2 separate regions of the Homo sapiens genome follow, and region 2 is linked to region 1. The links are contacts of gene promoters, found by promoter capture Hi-C in blood cells and fetal thymus (Javierre and others, 2016). All regions are on one chromosome and are shown on one strand. Each heading gives the region's core, a stretch centred on a gene start or on the middle of the fragment in contact. The rest is flanking DNA. Distances are from core to core; before and after follow the strand shown.

Evidence for each region. Contacts are between HindIII fragments. The CHiCAGO score rates a contact against its expected background, and 5 or more counts as called.
Region 2: a contact is called between the fragment with the promoter of HOXD13 here and a fragment that was not itself captured in region 1, in 2 of 17 cell types (naive CD8 T cells and naive CD4 T cells). The highest score is 6.5, in naive CD8 T cells.

What each region holds. Positions count from the first base shown.
Region 1 is chr2:177,149,515-177,155,784 of GRCh38, reverse strand. All of the region lies in intron 1 of LOC105373760 (a long non-coding RNA gene), which reads left to right. Among named protein-coding and RNA genes, the nearest start is that of MIR4444-1, 60 kb to the left of the region's middle. The HindIII fragment of the contact is 5,330 bases long and covers 1,301-6,270 here.
Region 2 is chr2:176,090,342-176,096,611 of GRCh38, reverse strand. It overlaps HOXD13 (homeobox D13), which reads right to left and starts at 3,891. Exons shown (of 2, transcript NM_000523.4): 1 at 2,941-3,891; 2 at 668-2,132. The coding sequence starts at 3,721. The coding sequence ends at 1,882. The HindIII fragment of the contact is 2,791 bases long and covers 2,565-5,355 here.

The DNA of each region.
Region 1 (6,270 bases), core at 2,716-5,215:
ATCCATACAAGCCTTTATTTGCTTTAGGAAATCTGTTAGCTAATGAATTTTGATGTGTTTTTATAAATTTTTATGAAGTAGACAGACTAAACTTAGTTTATTATATTTCAGTATGGATTTGACAATGCCTTTGATTGACCTCGCAGCTGCTCATCACACAAAAGTACCTAAAATTGATACACTTCAGTCATTAGGATAAACTCCAGGAAAAGTTTTCCTTTCTTTCCATTTTATTTTATTTTTTGAGACGAAGTCTCACTCTTGTTGCCTAGGCTGGAGTGCAATGGCATGATCTTGGATCACTGCAACCTCTGCCTCCCAAGTTCAAGTGACTCTTCTGCCTCAGCCTCCCAAGTAGCTGGGATTACAGGCATGCGACACCATGCCCGTATTTTTATTTTTAGTAGAGACAGGGTTTTGCCATCTTAGCCAGGCTGTTCTTGAACTCCTGACCTCATGTGATCCTCCCGCCTCGGCCTCCCAAAGTGCTGGGATTATAGGTGTGAGCCAGCATGCTCAGCCAAAAGTTTTCCTTTCTAATCAAATGAGGAAATTTTATTGAGATAAGAATGGGCATGGTGGCTCAGTGCTTAGGGAGGCTGAGGTGGGTGGATCACTTGAGTCTAGGAATTTGAGACCAACCTGGGCAACAAGGCAAAACCCCATCTCTACAAAAAATATAAAAATAAAAAAAAATTAGTTTGTTGTGGTGCTGTGCACCTTTAGTCCCAGCAACTTGCGGGGCTGATGTGGGAGGATCACTTGAGGCTGGGAGGCAGAGAGGTTGCAGTGAGCCTGGATTGCACCACTGCATTCCAGCCTGGGTGACCAGAGCAGGACTCTGTCTCAAAAAAGAAAAAAAAAAAAAAAAAAGAAAGAAAAAGAAGAGATGGGAAAGTCAGACCTGTTGGTGAAATGAGTTAGGCAGTGAATTGAACCAAAATGTAAAGTTCTATGTTTTTAGCTAATAGGAAATAAAATATACTGAGGGTTTGGTAACCTCTTAGGACTTTGAACCCATGTATAATTACATTGCTTGATAGTTTTCCCCCCAATACCATCTAATCTGAAGTTATAGCAAATAAAATACAAATTAAACAATGCTAAAAATATTTTTATCTTAAATCTCTGTTCCATAAGTAAATTTAAAAACTTTAGGAGTCTGCAAAAATGTACTATTTTAATAATTCACTCTTTTTTAATCTTTAAAGTGAAAGCAAGTTTATTAGGAAAGAAAAGGAATAAAAGAATGGCTACCCCATAGACAGAGCAGCCCCAATAATTCATTCTTTGCAAAGCTTTCTGGGGTATGATGATGCTTAACAGACTGGGTCAGTTGCAAAAATAGTTTTGCAAATGTTGGTATAAAAATAAGTAATATATGTAGAAAGCAGATAAAACTTATTTGGTGACAACTAGATTATAATGATGCAATTTTAAGTTTCAGATAGTCTCAACTTAAATCTTTAGTGAAATACATTAGTTTTTCAAATGATCAGAACTCAGCAAAATATATATGAATGTGAGATGAAGGGTGCTAAAATTTCCCCCCCCTGGATTTTTTTTAAAACAACTACATTAAAGAGTTACTACCCTTTGAGAATAAGGATATTATTTTCTTTTTGAAGGGAAACACTGTACTCTATAGAATGACTTGTACTGTCTTTTGTGCCATTATTAATACATTTCCTGTTTAAGGAAATGACTTTTTTTTTTTAACATGATAGTTTAAACTTCAAAATAAGTGCTATTGACTTTTAAAATGTCTTATCTTACTAATGTCATTCTGGGCATGAAGAATAAAGTGTGGAAAATGCTTGTCATAATAATCCTATTGTCATGAGATTCTCCTTTTTGAATAAAATAGCTCACATTTGTTGTTTCTTTTCTGGGGAGTGGCAATTGGGAAAGGGGAAAGTAAGTTTTGTAGATAAAGCAAACAGATCCCTCACTTTTAGATTAGTGAAGGATATGGTGATTTTTAAAAATACAAATATATACTATACCTATAATATATATTAAATGTCAGATATATCTTCCAGAGATCTTGCCTTCTTATTTACAATGGCCATACAAATGTCCTCATATAGTTCTATTTAATTGATTCTGTTTCCTTCATTTCTGTTTTTCTGTTCTTTCCTTTCAGTCAGCTTCCTCAGGTTGAATATTTTTCTGTTCTTATTGCCTTCTTCAAAACCACCATTTAAACTTTAATAAGATTCAAATTGAGATATTAAGCACAGAAAATAGGAAAAGTTTTAACTGAATTTTTTACGTTATATACTTGAAGCATGTTTCATGAATGAATAACATATGATTTACATGCATTTAAAATAGTATGTAGATTGCACGATGAAAATGCTATCATTTACTGAGTGGAATCTATATTTTCATTTAATTTAATATTTTTCACTTATGAAATAAGCAAGGTAGTTATGCAGCATATGTATATATATATATGCATATGTTTTATAAAAGCATACGTTTTAAAGTTTTTCCTTTTGGGAAAAAATACATACTTGAATATAGTTATTGAGGCCTTACTCTTTTTTTTTTTTTTTTGAGGTGGACTCTCACTCCATCACCCAGGCTGGAGTGCAGTGGGACCATGTTGGCTCACTGCAACCTCCATCTCTTGGGCCCAAGCAATTCTCCTGCCTCAGCTTCCCAAGTAGCTGGGATTATAGGTGCTCACTACCATGCCCGGCTAATTTTTTTATGTTTTTAGTAGAGATGGGGTTTCACCATGTTGGCCAGGCTGGTCTCGAACTCCTGACCTCAGGTGATCCACCCGCCTCGGCCTCCCAAAGTGCTGGGATTACAGGCGTGAGCCACCGCGCCTGGCCGAGGCCTTACTCTTAAAACCAAGGTGACCCTTAGTTTTGAAAAGTACAGAGCACTATAATGAATGATTAACAAATTATGCTCTGCAAAACAAAACTTAGTTGTGCATTAATACTAGTAGATACTATTTCTGCATTCTTATTTGTGCTAGGCAATGTGCTAAATGCTTTATGTACATTAACCTCATTTTAGTTCATTTAACTTCACAAGAAAGCCGTTGGTTAGGAATTTTTACCCTCATTTTACAGGTGGGAAAACGGAAACAGAGTTGAGTGACTTACTCAAGGTCTCAGAGTTAGTCAGTGGTAAAGTTAGTATTTGGATTCATGGCTATCCAATTACCCATACAGCATATTGAACAAGATCAAGAGGTTTAAAATACCTGTAAAATTTTTGATTAGTTAAATATGATGTGGAAAAATATAATAATGATGGCAATAAATAACCAATAAATGTTAGAAGACAGAGTTTAAGAGACAAGGATATGATACATAACCCCTTTTCTCCTGTAGAAGTAGATGAGGAAGTTATAGTAGAGGAGATGCGATGATAGTTCTGTAAAACTGTGAAGTAAGCATTGATTATTTGCTTGATTCATTAATTTACTTAACTAGGTTTTTGTTGGCCACTCTGTTGGGTGGTGGTATAGAAAGATCAGTAGGAAAGGTGCCTGCCTTTACAGAGTTGGCAGTCTTTTGAGTATGTAGACCATCCATGGGTAAATAGTGCAGAGGTTCAAGAATGATCATAGATTGTACTGATTACAAAGGAAGGTATATAATGTAGAAAGAGGTGCATGGTGGGTGGGAGGGAGACCTGTCCTGAGTTTTAAAGTTCATTATGTGAGGCAGGTAATATGGTCAAGATTCCAGGTAGAGAAAACAGGTGGTAGAAAGCCAAGAAGGTCCAAATGAGAGTGGGTAGGTTAGTGCAGTAATTGATGAGCCCGAAGACAGACAGATAGAAAGACTAGATCTTCCATGGCTGAACAAGATAGAGGTTGCTATAAGGCTGTGGGGAAGAGGCATGGTGAGATCCACATGTTAGGACAAATGCACTGGCTGCAGTGTGGAGAGAGGGTTGGAAAGGGGCCATGCTGGAGAAAACCAGTTAGGAGGCTGTTGCAGACAGGAGGAAAGTGACAAGGGCCTGATAGTGGGCAATGATGGGGGTTTTAGTGAGAAGGGGACAGCCCAGGTTATCAAAGAAAACGAGAAGAAAAGTTTCAAGGAGGAAGAAAAAGTAAATAGTATCAAATGATGTAGAGAAAAGATATTCATTGGGTTGAATAACAAGATCTCTGGTGACTCTTGCTAGAGAAGCAAGTGTTAGTGGTTCACAGAGAAGCCCATGGGGTGGAGGAGTGACCCAAGGGTGAGTGGGAAGGAAACACAGTGAGTGCCCAGTGTTTTCCTTTGCTACTCCCTGTGCTGATTTCCTCCTCTACTTCCAATCTCGGGAAAGAAAAAAAACACTTATTGGACAATTAGTGAAAACTAGTGCGTGCTGTAAGCCTCAAAATGACCCTATGATGTTGGGCCCACTGTGATCTTTATTTTCTAGGTGGGGAACAAAGAGCTTGAGAGATTTATACCCCAGCCCAAGATCCACAGTCATTAAATGGCAGGGCTCTAGTTCAAATCCAGGTCAGTGTGATTCCAGAGCTCACAGTCTCACCACTACTCTCTTCTAGAATTTACAGTCTTCATGCTTTGCTCTTCTCTCCTTCCCTCTCAAGACTGCAATCATGGAGCTGATAGACTTATTTTCACCAAAACATAAATGATGGGCACAGCTTATTATGTTTTTTTTCTGGATGCATTTTGAAATGACCATTGGATGTACTTCTTTTGCATTTTTATTGTGAAATACAGAACCAGTTTTGGCACTTTATGTAAGTGGAATCATTTGTATTCTTCTGTGTCTTGCTGCTTTTGCTCAAAATTGTATTTTGCGATTCATCCATGTTGAGTGTGGCATTAGTGCATTCATTTTCAATGCTGAATAATATTTCCTTACGTGAATTTACCATGTTATTTGCCATGCTATTTTATTCTTTAGGGACTTGTGGGTTATTTCTAGTGTTGAACAATTGTGACCGATGTTGTCTCTTTTTTTAAAAGTTCATTTTTCTGTTCAAGAAGGTCTAAGAATGTGATTTTAAACATCTTTAAATATTTTAGGAGGTCAGGATCCCTTTCCAATTCCCTTGAAATGAAACCTGACAAGTGGTTCCTGTGGGTTCCTGATTTGCTTACTCATGAGACCAAACCTGAGAAGTCTGAGGAGCATTTCTAAATTAAAATGTTTAAATAGGTCAGGTGAACTGAAAAAACAAAGAAACAGTTATTACCAGATCTCCCATTTCCCCTAGCTCTTCCACTTCATTGTTGCAATCTTAGCGAAATGCAGTCAGCTTGCATATTTTCCTGCATCGGTCCTTTGATCAGTAAAGTAATTTCTTTTCCTTCCTTTGTGCAAATCTTTTGATTATAGTAAGTTCATTCTTTAAAGACCAAACGTGGTAAAAAATATTAACAACTTGAATAATTTTAGCAACTATCTAAAATAACTTATTTTGCAGGGGATAAAACTAGAAATATTTACTTTTATAAAGTGAATCATCAAAATATAATACAACCAGTAATAAGATCATAGTGTATCATATATTTTAATAACAACATATAAGATAGACACAGTGTAGTATAGAAGTTCAGGGTATAGGCTCTGGAGTCAGAAAGACCAGGTTCAAATTTCAGTTCCACTTCTTACTGCCCATGTCAATGTGGTGAATTTCTTAACCTTCTAGAAGTAGCTTTCCTCAATTATAAAATAAGGATAATAGTAGTATCTATTTTAATAGGGCCATTGTGACCATCAAGTAAAAAACCTCAATAAATGTTAGTTGTTGTTGATATATTTAGCACATCCAAAGGGTAGAATAACCAGAGTATTTATTAACAAATCTTGTCAGAGATAGTTATCTGCTTATGTTATAGCTATTTATTCAACATTTAATAGGCTCCTCTTCTGAGGCAGAGGTTGTGGATCAGACAAAAGTACAATTTGTGGAGGTAAGACAATTAGAAAATTATGATCAAGTGGCAATGTTAAATAAAATATATTTGAAAACATAAAGTAGGAAGTGATTGCAGAATGTGGATCAATTGAAGGTACAACTTTCTAGGAATTGTATTTTGAATTTGATCTCAAACGAGGTAATAGCCACAACTTTGCCACGAAGAAAATTGAAGTTCTTTCTTCCAGAAAATGTGTGCATGTAAAGAATAGAAGGAAAAATGAGTACGACCTCTTTTGGGGGATAATAGGAATGGAAACTGTGAATGGAATGGGTGAAGAAGGGAGACATAATTGGTGGAATATTTTATAAACAGCTTTTCTTAAGACTCATATTTATTAGATGGT
Region 2 (6,270 bases), core at 2,642-5,141, 1.1 Mb after region 1:
TGTGTGGGGAGCTAACCATGAGGAGTCATCCAGTTCCTCATCGGCCATTTCCCTGAGTGGCAAAAAGGCCTCAAACAGAAAATTCTAGTGCCTAAAAATTGCGTCTGAAAGTTTAGGTTTTATGTTTTCAGTTGTCAACTGCTCTGTGCAGACTGCCCGGAGAAGGCGATATGGGATAAGCTTGAAATGTTTCTTTTTCGATTGCCAAATATGGGTATGTCTTTCTAATTTCAAGACCTTCCTAGTCCAGATGTTTATAATGGTCTTTCCAGGTTGAAAATTTTCAAGTGAGTAAGTTTTTCTATGCACAGGCATACAAATACATATGGATTAAAAAATAAATAGAACTATATAAATAAATTGACAATAGTGAAAGAAAAGTAAAATTTTATTGTCTTTTGAGCTGGCCTGGTATAAAATATCATTTTAAACACTGTAAATGATATCCTCATTTTAAAACATCACTACTTATGTTAAAGTCATGGGCAAAAGGGAGGGAGGGGGGCAAAAGTGGAGAGCATGAAGGTTCCAGAAACCAGAATTAGTGTTGAGTTTCCTTCATCTATAGAGAACATAATTGTGTTCAAGATACCAAGATTTTGTAATAAATAAGAATCGTTTCAAGAAGAAACACAAACTTGAAAAAATAAAACAAATGTATAAGGACTCAGAAGAAACAAAAGAGTTCTGTTTATTGGCATCTCCCTAGGAGTAAAAAGTGATTTTTAAATGTCTGAAGCACTGCCCATGTATCCCAGCTCACAGACATTGCATTTACAAAAATAATCTCTCAATTGTATAAATATGCAGCACTTTAAAAGTAATTATTTATCATCACTTTCAGAAACATCATTATTTTTCTTCTTGGACCTTGGAACTTCACATTTTTCATATTTGTTAGATGCTTTACAGCTCCATGCGAGGCCCCCTTGTTTAGACAGTCAAGTTCTTCATTGGGTTCTGTATGTAAGTTCCCACCCACGGCCACATTGATTCAGCCTCTTTTTGAGGATTGAGGAGATGACCACAATCCCAGACCCATAGATCCAAGGCCAAGAAAAGGAGGTGCATTTATGCCATCCGCGGGTCACTCTACTGATTGCAGCCATTTAAATGTCTGCATTGAGAGCTCAAGAAATGAAGGCATCCACGATCCATGAGGACACATGAGTTTCAAATTAAAGATTATGAAAACACAAACCTACAAAGTGTTAAAAACAAACAATTAAAACAGCAAGTGAAACACCCAAAGTTGGAAAGATTGTCTTCATTTCAATATTGATACAATCCCTATTTAATAAGGTGGCCATTTTTAAAGCCATCACAGTACCTTCAGCCTCCTGTTTTTAGACTTTCTCGGTGACCCCAGAGCACTGCCTGCCTTTCCACTTGCCTCAGGGCAACTGCTGAGAGCTAATGATTCAATTACCTAATTACAGGATATGAACGACTGAAAACCATTCTGTCCTAATGGATTATGAAGATAATCAGTGCTGGGAATGAACAAATAAAGTAATTTTTTAAAAAAACCCTTAAATCAGAATGGCACTTCTGAAGTTCATTGGGGGGCGGATTATTAAAAAATACTTCAAGTCCCTTTATACTGGCCTGGAGGGAGAAACAAAACATTAAAAACAGATATTTTAAAAACCCTAGGCAAGAACAAAACCAATAATAAACAAGTAAAAATCAGAACTACAAAGTCAGGTTGGGCAGCAGAAGGTTTTAGAGCCAGATAAGGGGAAGAGAGAAAAACAATTCACAAAATTTGCCACCATTGGCAGGGGGTGGGGGGAATTAAATACATATTCAAGTCTTTCCAAAGGCCTTTTGGAGACAACCGAATGGCTTCTAAGCTGTCTGTGGCCAACCTGGACCACATCAGGAGACAGTATCTTTGAGCTTGGAGACAATTTTCTTGTCCTTCACTCTTCGGTTCTGAAACCAAATGGTCACTTGTCTCTCAGATAGGTTCGTAGCAGCCGAGATACGCCGCCGCTTGTCCTTGTTAATGAATTTGTTAATGGCATACTCGTTCTCCAGTTCTTTAAGCTGCAGTTTGGTGTAAGGCACTCTCTTCTTCCTCCCTCTTCGGTAGACGCACATGTCCGGCTGATTTAGAGCCACATCCCCTGATACAAACAAAAGCACAAGAAAAATTAGGCTGGGATATTCGGAGCACCTAGCTGAGGATTGTGTGTGTGTGTGTGTGTGTGTGTGTGTGTGCGTTTGCAGGGGTGCAGGAAATTTTTAAAAAATGCCATGCTGTTTGGTCTTTATTATGTACATAGACATAACACTTACCTGTTATTAAAGAAGGATTATTTGCACTTAACAACAATGGTTAATTTGATTGATTATCATAGTTTCTCAAACCGGCATCTTAACAAGCTTGCAATTTTATGGTGTGGTTATTGGGCACGTTCATGAGGACAGTTTCTGCAAATGTCGGTTGTATAAAAACAAACTTACATACATAGACACATACCAACTCAGGTCTTTTGCTCAAATTTTGATTTCCCGCGTTCCTATGTTAGGAGTTCGTGAGCTTGATCTAACAAGCTTTAGTAGTCATCTTGGGGCAGTGATGTCTTTGAAAATGGGGGGACCCAACTCTGTCAGGTTTCTTAGGAAAAAGTTCTCTTTAGGAGAAAAGGGAGAGGCCCAAGGAAAGGGCACGCAGAGACTCTCAACTTTAGGAGAAAAACGTGTCTGCGCTGCACACAGGAAAGAAAGGGCAGTGACGGAGGCAGTTGAAATCAGAGGAGGAATTTACAGATTTCACACGAACTGGACAAATTTCCACTGGGTTAACCCTGGTCACGTGTGGAGCACAGGCACAACTCCCACTCCCAAGTAGGGGCGCATACTCTTAGTCCTTTCTTTTCTCCTTCTCTCTCCCCCTCCCTCGTGTCGGTCCCTTTTCTCCATCGCCCCTACCTGGAAAGGAAGATTTCCAAAAGTGGGACCCCTGTGGCTGGTCCTTGGTGCAGTACACCTGGCTGTTCCACCCGTTAGCCAGCGTCCAGGACTGGTACCCCTCCATGGAGATGTAGGCCTCGTGCCGAGGCTCCCCGGAGCCGAAAGTGGACACCATGTCGATATAGCCGGGCACGTGCTGGTAAGGGCTCGTATAGCCCTGGTAGAAGGATACCTCCTTGGCTCGCGCTGGCACCTCGTTGGCCGGTACGCTGCTGCTCGCCAGGCCTGACACGTCCATGTACTTCTCCACGGGAAAGCCTCCCAGCGAGGCGTGCGGCGATGACTTGAGCGCATTCTGCTGTAAGCCCACGCCGTGCGACATACGGCAGCTGTAGTAGCCGTTGCCGAAGTGGTAGCCGTAGCCCAGCGCTGGAGCGCTCGGGGGCGCTGCAGCGGCCGCTGCAGGCGTGGGTGCTGGGCACTCTTTGGCTGGGGGAGCCTCCGGGCGCGCCGCTACAACGGCAGAAGAGGACGACGACGAGGAAGAGCCCGTGCGCTCAGAGGTCCCGGGGTACGCAAAGCCGGAGGCTGCCGCCGCCGCCGCCGCAGCCGCCGCTGCCGCCGCCGCCGCCCGCCCCGAATGCGTCCCGGCGAACACAGGCGCGGAGAGAAAGCCGCGGCACTGGCCTGACGCCGCCGCCGCCGCCACCGATGAGGAGGAGGAAGAGGCCGGGGCGCCACCGGCGCCCCCGCCGTCTGCCCGCAGCCCGTCCATGTCCCAGCTCCCGGCGCGGCTCATGGCCCGGCCTGGCCCGGCCCCGGCCCTGGCCCTGGCCCCGCGCAGGACACCATGGCGCGGCGCGCCTCCTCCCTCCTCTCCTTTCTCTCTGGTTCGCTCGCTCCCGCCCTCTTCCTCTAGCCCTCTCTCCCTCTGTGAGCCTCCCGCCTCCGGCCCGCCTGCCCTCCAACAGGTTAGCTCATCGCGGGACGTTTATAAAAACGAAGTTCAGGTTGGGAGGGGGCCTGGGCCGGTCGGGGGGCCGCCTCCCGCCCCGAGGGCCCCCGCCGGGGGCGTGCCATTGGCTGCGCGCGGCCACGTGGGGGTAGGAACGCGGGGGAGCCTGGCTCCCGGCCCAGGCCTGGCTGGACCCACCCACTCCGGCCCCCACCCCTCTCCTGCCCCTTGCAGGGTCCACCTCCCATTCCCGCCCTCCCCCCCGACCCAGGCGTACGCGCTGCAGCCACCCCCACGAGTTGATTGCGCGACGGCCCATCCCAGGCCCTGTCTGCGACTGAGGCGGGCGCCAAGGCCTGCGCCTTGTCTCGGCAACCGCTGTTTTTGCCACCTCTCCTCGGCTCCCCGAGTTGCACAGCAAAATGAAGACGAAGGACAGAGATGATCAGAATGATGTGAAAACAGGCCCATTTTTTTATCCTGTTGCTGAATCCCTCAGTTAGTCGACTTCTAGACCCCAAATCCGAGTGAGCTAATTTGCCCTACCTTGTGCACTGGTACCCGGCAAAGGCATTTCACACAGGTAAGAGGCATTGGAGCAGACCCTTCCTATACACACACGCTGTCCGTTCGGAAAATGCCCATGAAGCGCCCTTGGGGCTGGCGGCAGAGACTTAAACAGATGAAAGACAGGCATCGGCGCAGTGAGCCTGACAATCTGTCCCAGAAAGAAAAGTCCATGGATGCCTACTCAACGCTCTTCGCCTCTACTCTTGGGCCAGCCGGGAGTGCTTCCGACCTGGGCCTCTCAGCTCCCGCGGGTCCTTCTTCGACCCGCAGAAAGACCCTGAGAACGGCGCCGGGGGAGAAAGCCACTCAGCCTCCCACCGTGAAACTTCTGTGTCTCTCCAGCAGCCGACCGGCCTCGCATTTTGCAGTCACCACCCACTCCCGCCCGTTTCTCACACCAAATTAATTGAAAACTTCACTTTCCCAGGGACCTTTGTTTCGCTTCCTTTTCCAAGCTGTCAACTGCAGAGAACTGAGAGGGGCAAATTAAGAGGGCGCTTGTTCCAAGCAAATTCGGATTTTGTGATAGGAGCAGCCCAGAGAAACGGTCTGACTTCAAGGGGTTAGGTGGGCTCAGGGCAGTGCTGGTGGGGCTAGGTCCAGCTCTGGAACCAAGCTGCCAGGGTGTTAGGGATTACAGCCCTGTCCCTCATCATCCCTTTCTGTTGCTCCTCAGCCTCAGAGCTCCAGCCCACCATCCCTCAATCTCAGCAACTAATGGGGCACCAATGAGAGTCCTGCTGTGACTTTGGGGCTCTGCCTTAGGAACAATATTAGATCCAATGAGCCCAGGGTTCTGGGGGTGGATATGGGATCCTTCAGAGCCCATTTGGTTCTGTGGCATGCACTCCCCAAGCCAGCCCATCTCCAAGAAAATCACTCCCCTAAGCCTGTGATTGGTGAAAGCTTGTCACCCAGCACCACTGTTCCCCGACCAAAGATGCCCTGAGTAAGATGAGGAAGAGAGCCAGGAAGGCCCTCCTTGGCCTGGCCTGGCATTTCAGGGTAGGCTGCTGGTGTTAGGAGTGTTGACATGCAAAACGCAGTAACCATAAAAGGCTCAAATAAAGGGGAAAGTTATGAGAGGGGTGTTGGAAAGGAAAAGCAAGAGAATTCGTTTCATCGTTTTGAAGTTCTAGACATGTTCATGATCAAATTTGAGATGGGAGGGGCCTGAATTTACAGGAAATCATAGGGAATAGAAGTTTGCTGATGAGAAAATTTTTTTCACTATTTGGGAAAAGAAGGCAAAAGTCAGCAATGAAAGTTCAACCAGCATTTTAAAAAGGCCAACTGTGGCGAGGCGACAGGATTGCTAACTTTTAAAGAGGGTTTGGCTGGGTCTTTATGAAACAATTTTGGTACCAAACCACCAACCATGGGCCACCATGAAATGCTTTTATTTTCCCTTTGTCTCATTTTTTCTTCCTCAGACAGAGAAAACATGAAGATAGTTTTAACTTTTTATGACTCCAAAAAACAAATTCGTTGAAATATTTCTAAGATATAAGTAGAACCAACAAACTTTCAGTCTCTTAAAATTAAATATCCCTGTGGTTTTGTGCCTTGGGCTTCTGCTTCATTTTCTCACTGATAAGTACATTTTAATGATCAATTATGTGTTTAACAATAAAGTAAAATGAAAATGGGAAGAATGTGTCAAGTTTTGTTGATTTCAAGCAGCCCATCACTTCTGGCTGAATTTTCCATTCAGCAAATTAAGTTGTGCAGGAGTGGGAGAAAAATCTGAATTACTACTCAGGTTGAAAGGGATTTCTCAATGGTGGCTCTGCTTCCAAAAGCCCTGTGGGACCCTCTCAGAG